2 separate regions of the Homo sapiens genome follow, and region 1 is linked to region 2. The links are contacts of gene promoters, found by promoter capture Hi-C in human tissues and cell types (Jung and others, 2019). All regions are on one chromosome and are shown on one strand. Each heading gives the region's core, a stretch centred on a gene start or on the middle of the fragment in contact. The rest is flanking DNA. Distances are from core to core; before and after follow the strand shown.

What was found. The method cuts DNA at HindIII sites, captures the fragments that hold promoters and counts their contacts. A contact is called where the count stands out against the background at its distance.
Region 1: a contact is called between a fragment that was not itself captured here and the fragment with the promoter of BID in region 2, in 2 of the 25 tissues and cell types used here (heart right ventricle and lymphoblastoid cells).

What each region holds. Positions count from the first base shown.
Region 1 is chr22:17,916,710-17,923,348 of GRCh38, reverse strand. The region is part of intron 1 of MICAL3 (microtubule associated monooxygenase, calponin and LIM domain containing 3); the gene reads left to right. Among named protein-coding and RNA genes, the nearest start is that of MIR648, 61 kb to the left of the region's middle. The HindIII fragment of the contact is 5,993 bases long and covers 1-5,317 here.
Region 2 is chr22:17,769,594-17,775,870 of GRCh38, reverse strand. BID (BH3 interacting domain death agonist) reads left to right here and starts at 1,402. Exons shown (of 6, transcript NM_001196.4): 1 at 1,402-1,490. RefSeq lists silencers at 1,274-1,373, 1,394-1,443, 1,464-1,533, 1,564-1,893 and an enhancer at 3,934-4,073. The HindIII fragment of the contact is 15,001 bases long and covers 1-6,277 here.

The DNA.
Region 1 (6,639 bases), core at 1,072-3,571, 150 kb before region 2:
CATGGCAGTTGGTTTTTGGCAACTGGTCTTTGGGAGAAAAGAAACCACAGTTTTGGCTATAGTTCAATATGCTCCGGACAGGGTAGGGTCACCCCTAGGGCAAGGGGTGCATAAGTGGGGAGAAGTTGTGGGCTGTGGACTTTCAAGACCCTGCCTGAGTGTAGCTTGGGGAATTTGCAGTATTCCTTGAGCAGAAGAAAGCAAGCTTGTTACTCACTTTCTCTGAATGTTTCATTTCCAACCAAATGGATCCTCCTTCCCATGGAAGTGGTGTGGTGAGGGGTGTAGCTGGGGGAGTGATCTCAGGGGTCAGCGGGAATCAGCAGAGGGAGAGGTTTGGCTTGGAGAAGCATTTGATCCACTGATGAATCATGCCTAAGTCCCATACTCTTTTAAGCTAATTTCAAGGGAAAATACATTCCACTGAGCTGGTTTAGGGTCAGTTGTCTAGATTTATTTCTGCTTTGGAGAGAACAACTGAGATTTTCTCCATGAAAATAGTTGAAGAAAACCATGGCCTTGGAGCTAGCTAGCCCTCATTCCCCATTCCTTTCTGTGGCTTGGAACCAAGACACACTGCTTGGGTTTGAGCATGCACAGCTACCTTATTGGAGAATAAGGACCCTCCTGGAACAAGGCTGTGCTCACCAAGCCTGTGCCCTGGTGCATACACTTGAACCTGGTTTTCTTTCGTCCCGAGCCATTTGCATCTCTAAGAAGCCTGTGGGCATGAGTCTTCCCTTCAGCCATTCTAACTCTTGGGAGCTTCAACATCATAATACCAGTGACTTAGTGTCTGAAAAAGGTGAGGATCATCCTGGAATGTGAACAGAAAACAACAGTCCTGTTGTTTTCATAATTAGGAGCCATTCAGACTCCTAATATGCCTTAGGGAACTCAACTGTGGCTGCTTCCTGGTCCTTCTTACACCCCCTAAATTGTCCAACAAGTTAGTAACAAGTTAATCATCATGCAAATGCCCTTTCTCCTTTTGTGTAGTTCTGTGACATTAGATGTTATGGCCCAGGCGAGACTTCTGTTTATCTTTTTCCTTCTTTCTTGGCATCTGCCCGCATCTGTACTACGTGCAAACATGAACGTGAATTCCTCTACCTAGCCAGACCCAAACACAAACGGGTAGGCAGACCTGGACTTAATTCCAGAGCAAGTGAGGAGTGTTGAAGGGGAGGCACGCACCCAGGTGGGAGGGAACACAGGGGAAAAGGTGATTGGCTGCTTGGGGCTGGGGTGGGCGGGGTCGCTTTAGTGAGGTCCGGAATGCTGAGCTGCAGTCTCAAGTGCAGGAGGGGCGTTGTAGGCAAAGGTGAGGAGGCGGCAGAGGTGAGGAACACGTAAAAGTGTGGTGCATGCTGGGAACCTGAGAGGATGGGTTGCATCTATTAATAGTAGTGAGAGAAGTCAGCTTTTTGGGCCTTGCTGAGGGTTTGGATTGTTTCCTAGTGTCAGCAGAGGCTGAAACGGGTCACATTGGCCCTTACAAAAGACCCCTCTGGCACTCGTGGAGGATGTATTGGAGCGAGTTTAGATTAAGGGACAGCTAGCCGGGCGCGGTGGCTCATACCTGTAATCCCAGCACTTTGGGAAGCCGAGGTGGGTGGATCACTTGAGGCCAAGAGTTCGAGACTAGCCTGGCCAACATGGTGAAATCCCGTCTCTACTAAAAATATGAAAATTATCCAGGTGTGGTCGCACATGCCTGTAATCCCAGCTACTAGGGAGGCTGAGGCAGGAGAATCACTTGAACCCTGAAGATGGAGGTTGCAGTGAGCTGAGATCGCACCACTGCACTCCAGCCTGGGCAACAGAGCAAGACTCCATCACACACACAAAAGAAAAGATTAAGAGGCAGCTGTGCTAGTCCAAGCTAGTGTCAGTCAAGGGAAATGACCAAGGCCAGTCTCAAGTCTTAGTCATTTTAAGAGATACATTTGCCAAAGTTAAGGTTGCATACCCGGGAGACAGTTCTATGCCTTTCTCCGAAGATGATTTTGAGAGCTTCAGTATTTAAGGGAGAAAGAGTGGGATATTGTGAAATACACAGTTTTCATGTTGAGGGAAGGGAAAAATAGTCATTCATGCCTTTGACTCTGAATCTGCCTTTTTACATGAGATAACATAGACAATAGAGCAGAGGAAACAATCAGATATGCCTTTGTCACAGGTGGGCAGAGAGATGACTTTGAGTTCTGTCTTATGTCCCCGTACCTGTGAAGATAAGCTGTCAACTTACATTGCCATGGTGAATTTTAACAGAAATGCTTTAGGGTAAAGATCTTGGGGCCCACAAGGAATTTCCTTGTGGGCAAAATGCGAGGGAGTCATCTTTGTAGTCATCTTATTTAGGAACCAGAATGGAAGGTGGGTTTGCATGATCCCTTTCCCAGCTTGGCTTTTCCCTTTGGCTTAGTGAGTTTGGGGCCCCAAGATTTATTTTCCTTTCACACTGGGAATCTCGGGGCTTCCACCAGGATTGTGGTAGGCAGATGAACATTCTAAAGTTAGAATCAGCAGATTGGGTTGAGGAGTGGAGAACAGAGAAGGGTCTGAGATGACCCCAGATTTCCATTTGGTGGGTGGTGGGTTTGACTCCGTGTGGGGTAGACTTCCTTGGTGGGAGGCACCTGTGGATGGCTAAATGGAAATGTTTAGTAGCTTTGGATCTCTGGAGGAAGGTCAGAATGATAAAAATCAAGGGCCATCCAATTTTTTGAGAGCGGCAGATGAAAGAATTGCAGCTGAGAGACTGGAGGCCGGTGTGGAGAGTGGGCAGAAGCAGGAGACAGAGCACAGCCAGGGGAGGGCGGGTTCCAGGAAGCGCTGCAGCCAGGGAGCTAGCCAGATAAGACCGGAACGCGTCTGAGCCTGTCTCACTTGAAAGCCACCGTCACCCTCAGTGGAGTGTTGGAGACAGAGGCCAGATTGGAGAGGGAGTGAAAAGATGACCGGAAGAGGGTCATTAGGAGGGTGGGGACGGGCTGGGGGCCCCAAGACACAGCGTCAGGCTGGAGGAACCAGTGGGGTATTGTAGAAGGCAGTATTGGGGCCCCACCTATGGGTGGAGATGACGGGGCAGGTACAGCCACATCAGTCCTCACTGCGGGGACTTGCAGAAAATATGCTTTTGTCCCACCCCCATTCCACTCCCAAGGCTGGCGTTTCACGCGTGCAGCTTTCCCTCTCACTTGCCTCCTCCGTCACCGCCCAGCAAGTATGAAATGCGCAGTAACCCTTTGAGTCCTGTGTCCTCCTGCCTCAAATGAAGAAATGTTGCCTTGTCTGACACCTGGGCTTGTGGCAGCTTCGTGGCTTTCTCATGCAGATGTTAGCCATACAGGTAACTTGGAATCAGAAGTGTTATGGGTCCTTCACTCGTCTCTGGGGTAGTGGGCTGGGGCTGTTGCATAGCATTTGCTGACACTGATACCGCAGTTCTTTAGAAACCAGTTTCTTTTTATAGGGAACAGTTACACTGAAGCTATTTGGCTATTGAAACAAAGCTGCCTCCAGGTCCTGGCTCCTGACAGGCTCTCTTCTGATGGCAAGAACAGGTCCTGAGCTGGGTGTGGGGCCTGCTGGGCAGAGCCTGTGTGAGCCAGGTCCAGGGCTGGTCGTGGTCATGGAAAAAGGGCAGGTCTCCAGGGGAGCACCTCCCCCGCTGGGCAGAAGCCATCTGGACTCTCCTTGTAGGGGTCCCATTCTCTGTGACTCCCAGCCTGGTGCCACTGCCTGAAAGCACACAGTTCATTTTCATTTGATACGACTTCTGTCTCATATCCTAACTCAGTTCTGCCTGGAGAAGTTCATATACACAGCCGTTTGTTCATCAAGTGGTCCTCACTGTGCACCACCTGTTGTGGTCCAGGGACTGTTCCAGGTGCAAGGACGCAACAGTGAATAAAATGGCAAAAATCCTCACCCTTCCAGAACTTACATTGTAGCAGAAAGATGGATTGTAAGTAAATAACATTTAGAGGCTGAGTGTGGTGGCTCACACCTGTAATCCCAGTGGGAGGCCAAGGCAAGAGGATTGCTTGAAGCCCAGGAGTTCAAGACTAGCCTGGGCAACATAGGCCCTATCTCTACAAGTAAAAAACAATTAGCTATGCTTGGTGGTGTGCACCTGTGGTCCCAGCTACTCAGGAGCCTGAGGCAGGAGAATCGCCTGAGCTGAGGAAGCTGCACTGAGCTATGATTATGCCACTGCACTCCAGGCTGGGTGACAGAGTGAGCCTGTCTCAAAAAAAAAAAAAACCCACAAAAACCAAAAACATTTGGAGTATGTCAAGTTGTGGTAAGTGCTTTGGAGAAAACCAGGGAAAGAGGATGAGCAGGTTTAAACGATGTGACCAGGGAAGTCCACACTGAGAAGCTGGCATTTGAATATATGTGTCAGCTGCATTAGAAGGCTCGTGCCCTGGAAGTCAGAGCTTGTTTTCTCTGTTCACTGCTGTTATTTCTGGAGCGTAGAAGAGTCCTCGGCCCATAATAGATGCTCACTAGTATCTTTTGAGTGAACGGATCGGAGGGAAGAGCATTTTTAGACAAAAGGAGCTGCAGATGCGGAGGCTGAGGTGAGAGGGTGTCTGGTAGGTGGGGAACATGGGGAGGCCATTGCGGCCAGCAGGGATGGAGAGGCTGGCGGCAGGAAAGGAGGCAACAGAGGGAAGGCGTGTGTATGGGTGCAGGTCTGGGGGGCGCTCCATGAGGTCAGAACTGTTTTTGTAATAATACTGAGTGCTATTATGTGCTTTTCCCACCCTCGTTTGCCCAGGTGTGTACAGTGGCCTTTTCTAGAGGCTACGTGATATGTGCTGCTGCTGCAGACAGAGCAGGCAGGAGAATCTGGCTGCCACACATTAAAGAGATTTGCAGAAATGTGGAAAACTGTCACTCTTCTCACTGAATTTCTGTCTTGGAAAGTAATTTTTTTTTCTTAAGATATGTTAATTGTTATTTTAAAGTGAATTAATGTTGAAATTTTGTCTCAGTCTTAATTTTACATATAGTAAATATTGATAGCTCTTTGGGTCCTCAATGTTTTTTTTTTAAGAGACAGTCTCGTTCTGTCCGCCAGGCCAGAGTGCAGTGGCATGATCGTAGCTCACTGCAGCCTCGAACTCTGGTCCTCCTTAGCTTTGAAGTGTATAAAGGAGTCCTGAGACCAAAATGTTTACGACACGTTTATAGGGCCTTGTAGGCCATTATTTTATATTTGCTTTTATGCTGGCTGAGATGGGAAGTCATGGCTGAATCAGCTGAGGAAATTTAGTGAAGACAGTTTACCAATTCCTGATTGTCCTTGAGGACAAAGCAGGTGTATCCGGGTGGGCGGCATGCTGTGGATGGGCACCTCAGCAGGAGAAGGCTCTGGAGTCACTGTGTGCTCATGCTCTACTCCCTTCTCATAGCTGGGCTTACCTCTGCCAGGGGAGATAGAGGGAAGGGACATGCTTTGTACACAGTGTCCACAGGATGTGGGTCGAGAGTGACGGGGCAGGGGCGGGGCCTTCTTCCCTGGGTGTGGTCAGCAGAGCTCTCTCTGATAAGGTGAGCCAAGACCTGAAGAGCGAGGGGCACTCTGCATGGCTGGCCAGGGCAGCCCCGCCCAGGGAGGCCTTGGTGAGCAGGAGAGAGGCCATGTGGCTGGGCCTAAGGGTGTTGGGGAGGGTGGCAGGATCTGACCTGGGGCTGGGATGTGGCAGTCAACGTGTCTGATGGGTGTTTTAAATGGATGCTCTGGCTGCTTTGTGGAATATTCTGGAGGGTGGGTTTGGAGGAGCAGAAGTAGGGGAGGCTCATGCAATGAGCAAGTGAGAGCTGGTGGTGTCTCAATGAGGATGATAGAGAAGACATGGTGAGAAGTGGTTGGATTTGGCTGTATTTGAAGGTAGAACACAGAATTTTCTGAAGAACGGACCGTGGGATGTGACAGAAATGCAGACGGGGGCAAGGTTTTGGGTTGAGTGTCCGGGTAGCTGGCGGTGTTGTTTACCAAGATGCAGAACACTAGGGAAGGAACAGGCTCTGGCGAGCGGCATCAGAGTGTTGCCTCCAGTGCTTTAAGCTAGAGATGCCTGTCAAACATCCAGGTAGAAAAGTCACACAAGTGATTGGTCGCACAAGTTCAGGAGAGAGGAAATAAATATTAAGGCACCATTGGTTATTGATACTGTGTAGATAAATCTACGGGAGGGAGGATCCTCCAGGGCACAGCTTTCACAGTGGCTTGTGTCTCCGTGGGTCATGAAGTCAATACAGTGGGCACCAGCAATTTTCAAAAAACGAAATAGAATTGAAAACAATATCTCGGTAGTAAGGGCTGTTGTAAAATGTTTCCTTTTATGCCAACTGATAGGGGAATTTTGCCCTATGAAACATTTTTTAAAAATTAAATTTATGTGAAAAGAGAGCTGTGTCCTAGATCACAGTATGAAACTTCTTTTTTTAAACTGCAGATCACAGTTTAAAAGCCACTGATGTAGAAGGAGATGTAGTTTCAAAAGAGATCAGAGACTGAGTTGATTCCGGGGCCATTTCAACGTGCAGAGGCTTGGGATGGGTCTGGGACCAGCAAAGGACGCAGAGAGGGGCTATGAGGTCACAGCAGGACCCAGAGAG
Region 2 (6,277 bases), core at 153-2,652:
GCTGACATTGTACCATGAATTTGAACACCACCCTGCAGATGACCTGGCCTCAGTCCATGAAGTTTCCCTTTCGTCTTCTGCAGGGCACCGGCCCCTAATGCCATCTGACGGTTTCCCTGCTCACAGGATCTTCCATTTGTTAGCCCCCCAGAGTGCCCAGCCCGAGTGAAGAGCATGCAGGAAACAAGCCCCTGTCCTCGTGGAGGCTACATTCCGAGAGGGGAGGTAGGCAACACACACACAAACGACTCCGTGGTATGTCATGCTGCGATGCTGGCTGTGGAGGAAAATGAAGTGAGGCCTGGTGAAAGCCAGAGGCCATGGGGCTGCCGAGGAGGAACAGGGACAGGGTAGGATTTGCTTAGAGCAGGGCAGGTCGCGTGGGACTCTGCGGGCCACTGAAAGGAACTTGGCTTTTATTCAGAGGATGTTAAAGCGTGAGTGACATCCTCTGACCTTTTATAAAAGAGGCAAGAGTCTAGGGAGCCCGGGTAGAAGTGAGGGCGTCTGGAGGAGCCACAGTGGGCTCAGGGAGTGAGCCCACGCGAGGGCGCAGAGCAACTGGACGCTCCAACAGGGCTGGTGGAAGTGCCGAACGGTGTGCATCACCTTGGAAAGCAGGCAGTTTTTAATACCATGAAGCTCGTCCAGCCCTATGATTCGCATTTCCACTCCTAGGTATCACACTCAAGAGAAGTGAAGACGCCCACAAAGGGCTCTGCAGCAGCACTGCCGGTGAGAGCTGCATCCGGGGATGCATGGACTGGCCTGTCATTCCAGCACCTTGGGAGGCCGAGGTGGGAAGCATCGCTGGAGCCCAGGAGTTCGAGACCAGCCTGAGACCTCCAGAGGTGGAGACCCCCCCCCCACCACCTCCACTAAAAACTGAAAAAGAAATTAGTTGGGTGTGGTGTGCGCCTGTAGTCCCAGCATTATCTATATGTTAAACTGATGTTTTAAATCAGAGTTGATATCCAAATAATTAAAGAATAAACAACAAGCACAGGGACTGGTGAGGGGCTGGGCCAGATTCTCTGCAACCCACATGGCTTCACCCACTTTCCAAACCCCTGGTTCCGTGAGGACCTAGAATGACCACCCCAGACTGTTCCAGAAACAGCCTGGGGATTCTGAATGTTTCCCAGAGAATCATTAGGAATTATCCCAGCGGCGCTGGAGTAAGTGGCCAACTTAAAGTTGGACGACACTGTCTGAAACAGTCGCGTAAGGGGTAAGGGTGGAAAGCCTGGTTCTCACTGCGCTGCCGGCTCCCCGCCCCGCTCCACAGCCCCGCGCCGGCGCGGGCTCCCCGGGTCCCCGCAAGCCGCCGGGGGCGGGCCGGGGCGGGCCGGGGCGGGCCCGGGCGTGGGGGGCCGAAGGAGGAAGCGCGCGGGGCGCCATAAGGAGGAAGCGGGTAGTCGACCGTGTCCGCGCGCCTGGGAGACGCTGCCTCGGCCCGGACGCGCCCGCGCCCCCGCGGCTGGAGGGTGGTGAGTGCACCCGCGCCCCTCCCGGGGTACGCGCCGAGCCCCAGCCCGTGACCCCTGCCTGCCGCCTGCCCCGGCGTGGAGCTCAGGGCCCGCCGCCCGCCCTGGGCCCGACCGCGGTGGGAGCCAGAGGAGGGGAGGCGGGGGGTCAGAGCCCCAGGCCTCAGCAGCGACCTGAGGGCCGGGTCTCTCCCGCCTCCCCTCCGCCCGGGCGCCCTCCTCGGCGCGGCCGGCAGGTCGGTGCTGAGGGTCGGGTCCGCCTCGGAGGCGGGGAAGGCTTTGTTGTGTCCTCTCCACGTGGCCTGGGGATTCAGGGGAGGGGTGCGGGGCGCGGGGAGGGGGAGGGGCCGAGGCCAGCCCCGGAGAGGAGAAAACCCGCGGGCCTGGCCGGGTGCAGGCCACCCTTGCCGGCGGATCGGAATCCCCGCCCACACCGTGGTCTTTCCAGCACCGCAGACACCTGCCGGCTCCTCCCGAGCGGAGCTCAGGGCTGACAAAGCGCGGTCAGAGCGGCCGCTTACTGGGGCTCGCCCGCTCCTTAGAGCACTGGCAATGATGTGCGGATCCTCGCTGCTGCTGCTGGGAAACTGTTGAGTGGCTGAATGACCCCAGGGGACCCTGGGAGAGCTCTGAAGCCCTCAGCCACCAAGTGGCTGGGCTGGCAAGGGTTCATTCATTCATTCAACAAATACGAATGTGCAGCGGTGCTGGGGTCATGATGGCTCGGTGGGCAGCGAGGGGCCGGGCCGGCTGGAGGAGCACAGTGCGGATTCTGTAAGTGGGCTGGGGGCTGGGCCTTCTGCGGCTGGACCGGCCTTCACCTGCAGGCAGGGTTGGGGCAGGTGAGGAGCAGATGGACCCACCCAGAGCTCTTCCACCTTCTCAGGCTTGCACCCCCTTCCTGGAGCCTTATCCACACCCTCAGTCCTCGCTCTCACTGTGGGGGAGCTGCAGAGGATGCGGTTTTTCCACATTCCATCTCCACCCACAGGAGGCTTTGAGATGGGGGGAGCTCTCCTGGGCCTGAATGTGTGCCGTCCTGGGGCCCTGCAGTCCCCTGGGAGTGATGACCGAGACCAGATTCCCTGAGCTGGGGTCTTAAGGGTGTGGGGAGCGCAGAGGGATCCTCTGGCATCAGGAGTTGAGGTAGACAGAGCTCCAGGGAGGCACTGCCGGGAGGACGACCCTGGCCAAGCCTCTGCCTGCGGCCCAGGGTGTGCGTCCCTGCCCCTTCTGCCCCTCTTGCCCAGGGAGGGAAGAGGAAATGCGGGGTCAGCAGTTCGTGGCTGGGGTTTAAAGGCAGGGATCTCCCAGGACGGGCACAGGGAGCATGAGGAAGCAGCTCGTGTCTCTGTTCATGAGATGTGAGAGTGGTGACTGAGACGAGGGGTGCAGAGACCTGCCGTGGCTGGGGCGAGGTGCTGTTAGTGCTTCTGAGGAGGTTGGGCAGGATAGACGGTGGCTGTCAGGTGGTCTCAAGGTTGTGCAGGAGCTTGCCAGAGAGGGAAGCGGGGCATGGCCCCAGGGTGGTATGGGGGATTCTAGGGGGAGGGTGCCTGGGTGGGAAGGGGTGTCGCATGCCCAGCTCAGAGGCCTTGCTTAGGGGTGCTCACAGGCTCGGCTGACGTGAGGATGCTGATCGAAGGAGCTGAGGGTCCCACTCATTTGCAAGGGGGAACTGTCTGCCCAGGAGCCCCAGCAGTGCCCAGGCCCCTGGACTGACAAGGATGGATGAGGGTGATGGAGGCGGATGGACATTTGACACTGGAGCCTGCCTTCCAGGCAGAAGGGCCGTGAGTCATCCTCTCTCCGGTGCCAAGTGGAGGGGCTGAGCAGGTCCTCGACGTGACCGAGGACTGTGCCCGTTTTTTCAGGGGACCCGGAGCGCTGGCTCTGGCTGTCAGCCCATGAGAGACCTCCCTGCAGAGCTGTGGCCTCTGGAAATGCTTCCTGTCGTTGACATCTGGTCACCATTCTCCAGCTGGGGCTGTGGAGGGCAGCACAGGCCTGGAGTGTCCCCGAGAGCAGCTGGGCGTCTGCCCCTGCCCACCCCACAGGGCCTCCCACTCACAGGGCCTAATTAGCAGCTCCATGGCTGCCATACCTGGCGGACCGCCCTCAGCGGCCACATATATCCTTGCCCCAAGCCAATGACAGGTCTGAAGAAGACACTGATGGAGCTGAAGCACAGGACAGAGACAAGCACCTGTGTGCCGGACGCTCACGGAGCACTTGATGTGTGCTGACTGGCTCACATCACGGTGGTCAGACGAGGGTAGCATCCCCATTCTCCAGATGGTGTAACTGAGGCAAGGAGAGGCTAAGTAACTTGTCCAAGGTCACACCCGAGGGAGTTGGACTTCAGGGTCTCAGCTCTGAGCATCAGGCACACTGCCCAGATTCCCCCTCCACATGTCACACCTGTTAGGCCACTGGGGGTAAGGAGCCTTTCTGTGGCCTCGCTCCCCTGTGAGCCCCTGGGAGGGAGGCAGCCCAGATTCCAAGGCAGCGAGTGACGTGTGTGGGAAAGGGGAAGCTTCCGGGGCAGGGGTTCAGAAACCTCGCAGTGGGGTTTTCCCCAAGAGCCACTGCTGGCAGGTTCCTACAGCCCCATCCAGCCCCAACACAGCCTGCCTCTTTTCCTTCCTCTTCCTCCTTTTCTCTTTCTGCCTGCGTTGGTCCAAAATGGGGAAGTTTCACATAAATGGCAAACAGGCCACAAAGCAGCTATTTCTGGAGGTGCTGCTGCCTTGCAGATTGAATTCTTGGTTGGCATTTTAGGTGTTTGTTTTCAGGATCCTTTTCTGTAGAAGAAGCCAACAACTAAGAAAAGGAGGAAGTGGCTTTGGGAGGCTGAGACGGGAGGATTGCTCGAGCCCGGGAGGTCAAGGCTATAGTGAGCTGTGATTGCACCGCCGCACTCCTTGAATCCTATCAGCTTGGCCAGGGTGGGGGTGGGAAGTGGGGTCTTAAAGGGGAAAGACCAGCCGGGCGCGGTGGCTCACGCCTGTAATCCCAGCACTTTGGGAGGCCGAGTTGGGCGGATCATGAGGTCAGGAGATCAAGACCGTCCTGACTAAGACGTTGAAACCCCGTCTCTACTAAAAATACAGAAAATTAGCTGTGCGTGGTGGGGGGCGCCCATAGTCCCAGCTACCTGGGAGGCTGAGGCAGGAGAATGGTGTGAACCCGGGAGGTGGAGCTTGCAGTGAGCCGAGATCGCGCCACTGCACTCCAGCCTGGGGGACAGAGCGAGACTCCGTCTCAAAAAAAAAGTGGGGGAAAGATCACCATCTGGATCATAGACCAGACCTGAAAGGGGGCTGGTCACTTTTAGGTACGTAGAGTAACTGGAAAGACACACTGTCCTAGTGGAAGCCGTGGGTGGCCTCTGTGGCTGCTGTGGCCCCAGGGGAGGAGATACCTGTCTTCTGGGGCTGCGGCTCAGTCTGGCTCCGGGTCCGGATCACCAGGGAACTTTCTGCAGAGCATCCTGCCTGGGCTTTGCCTGGTCTGCATGGGATCCCCCAGCCTGTGGCTCAGCCCGCTTCTATGCTCATAGCCATGCTGGCGCCGGGGGCAGTCCTTGGCTTCCCTCCTCGTTGGCTTAACAAACCCCCTTTCTTCAGAGGAAGGAAAGTGTGCCGTGGCCTGGTGGGACAGGCTGGGCTTGGAGGTGCCAAATGTCCTGTGTGCTTGGGGACAGCTGCTGAACCTCCCCGCCGCCGTCACGGCCCTTGGCCAAGAGCTTTCATCCAAGGCTGGCAGTAGTTGCTCTATTTCTGTTATGGGGCACCTCTGCATCTGGGTTTGGTTTAATTTGTGTAACTGAATGTCTCATTTTATTCCTCACATTCATTCTGTGAAGTTTCCCTTGTCTGGGTGAGTGTTCAGGTGACTACAACCCTGGGTCCGGGATGGGCGGTGTTCCAGGAGCTTCTGCTTGGGCCTCTCCCATTCTCCCCCAAAACCAAAGAGAAGGGAAAACCCTTTGTAAGTGGATGTCACATGTCAGGTGCTTTTTCTGATACTGCATGTGATCCCACAAGGCAGGGAGTGTCCCCTTTTACAGACGGGGAAGGTGAGATCACATTGCAGGTTCAAAGCCCGACATGACCTGTCCACCTTTACAGCTTCCCTCTCTGGGCTGGGAGTGCGTGAGGGCTTCTTAAAATGCAGATGGACTTGGGGGATTGAGCTTCTCTGGGGTTCTGGTGTTTTTGTAGGGAGAGCCATCTGGGGTCAGGGCTGGGGTGGGGACAGCAGGAGAACAGGACAGGAGTGGCAACCCAGGGCCAGGGAAGGGAGTAGGCAGGGGTAGCATATGGGGGTGGAAAGAAAGGGGCCAGTGGCACGAAGGGCCCTGGGAGGCAGCAGCGTGTCCCTCCTGGGGGTAAGTCCAGGAAGGTGGCCATCCCCGAGGAGCTCCGTTCCTGTGACAATGAGGCTAGGCCTGAGGGCACCGGAGGCCAGCGGGCAAGTGCACACCCCCAAGCCTGGCGGGGCACCACGTGACCAGGCCTGGTATTGGGACTGGGAGTGGCTCCTGCACCAGCTGGCATCTGCCTAGAGACAGGAAGGTGGGTGCCTCCTGGGTTCAGCTGGGAACTCTGAGCTTTGGGTGCTGGAGGTCACTGCGTTTGGGATGGCTGCCTCCTGGACCCAGCTGCCTCTGTGTGTGGAGTCAGTAAGGCACCGTCCTGGCTGCGGAACTGAGGCAGGCATGCTATGAGAAGATAAAATTGCCTTAACAACTGTCCCCAGGATCCTTCCAGCAGGCACTTCCTTGC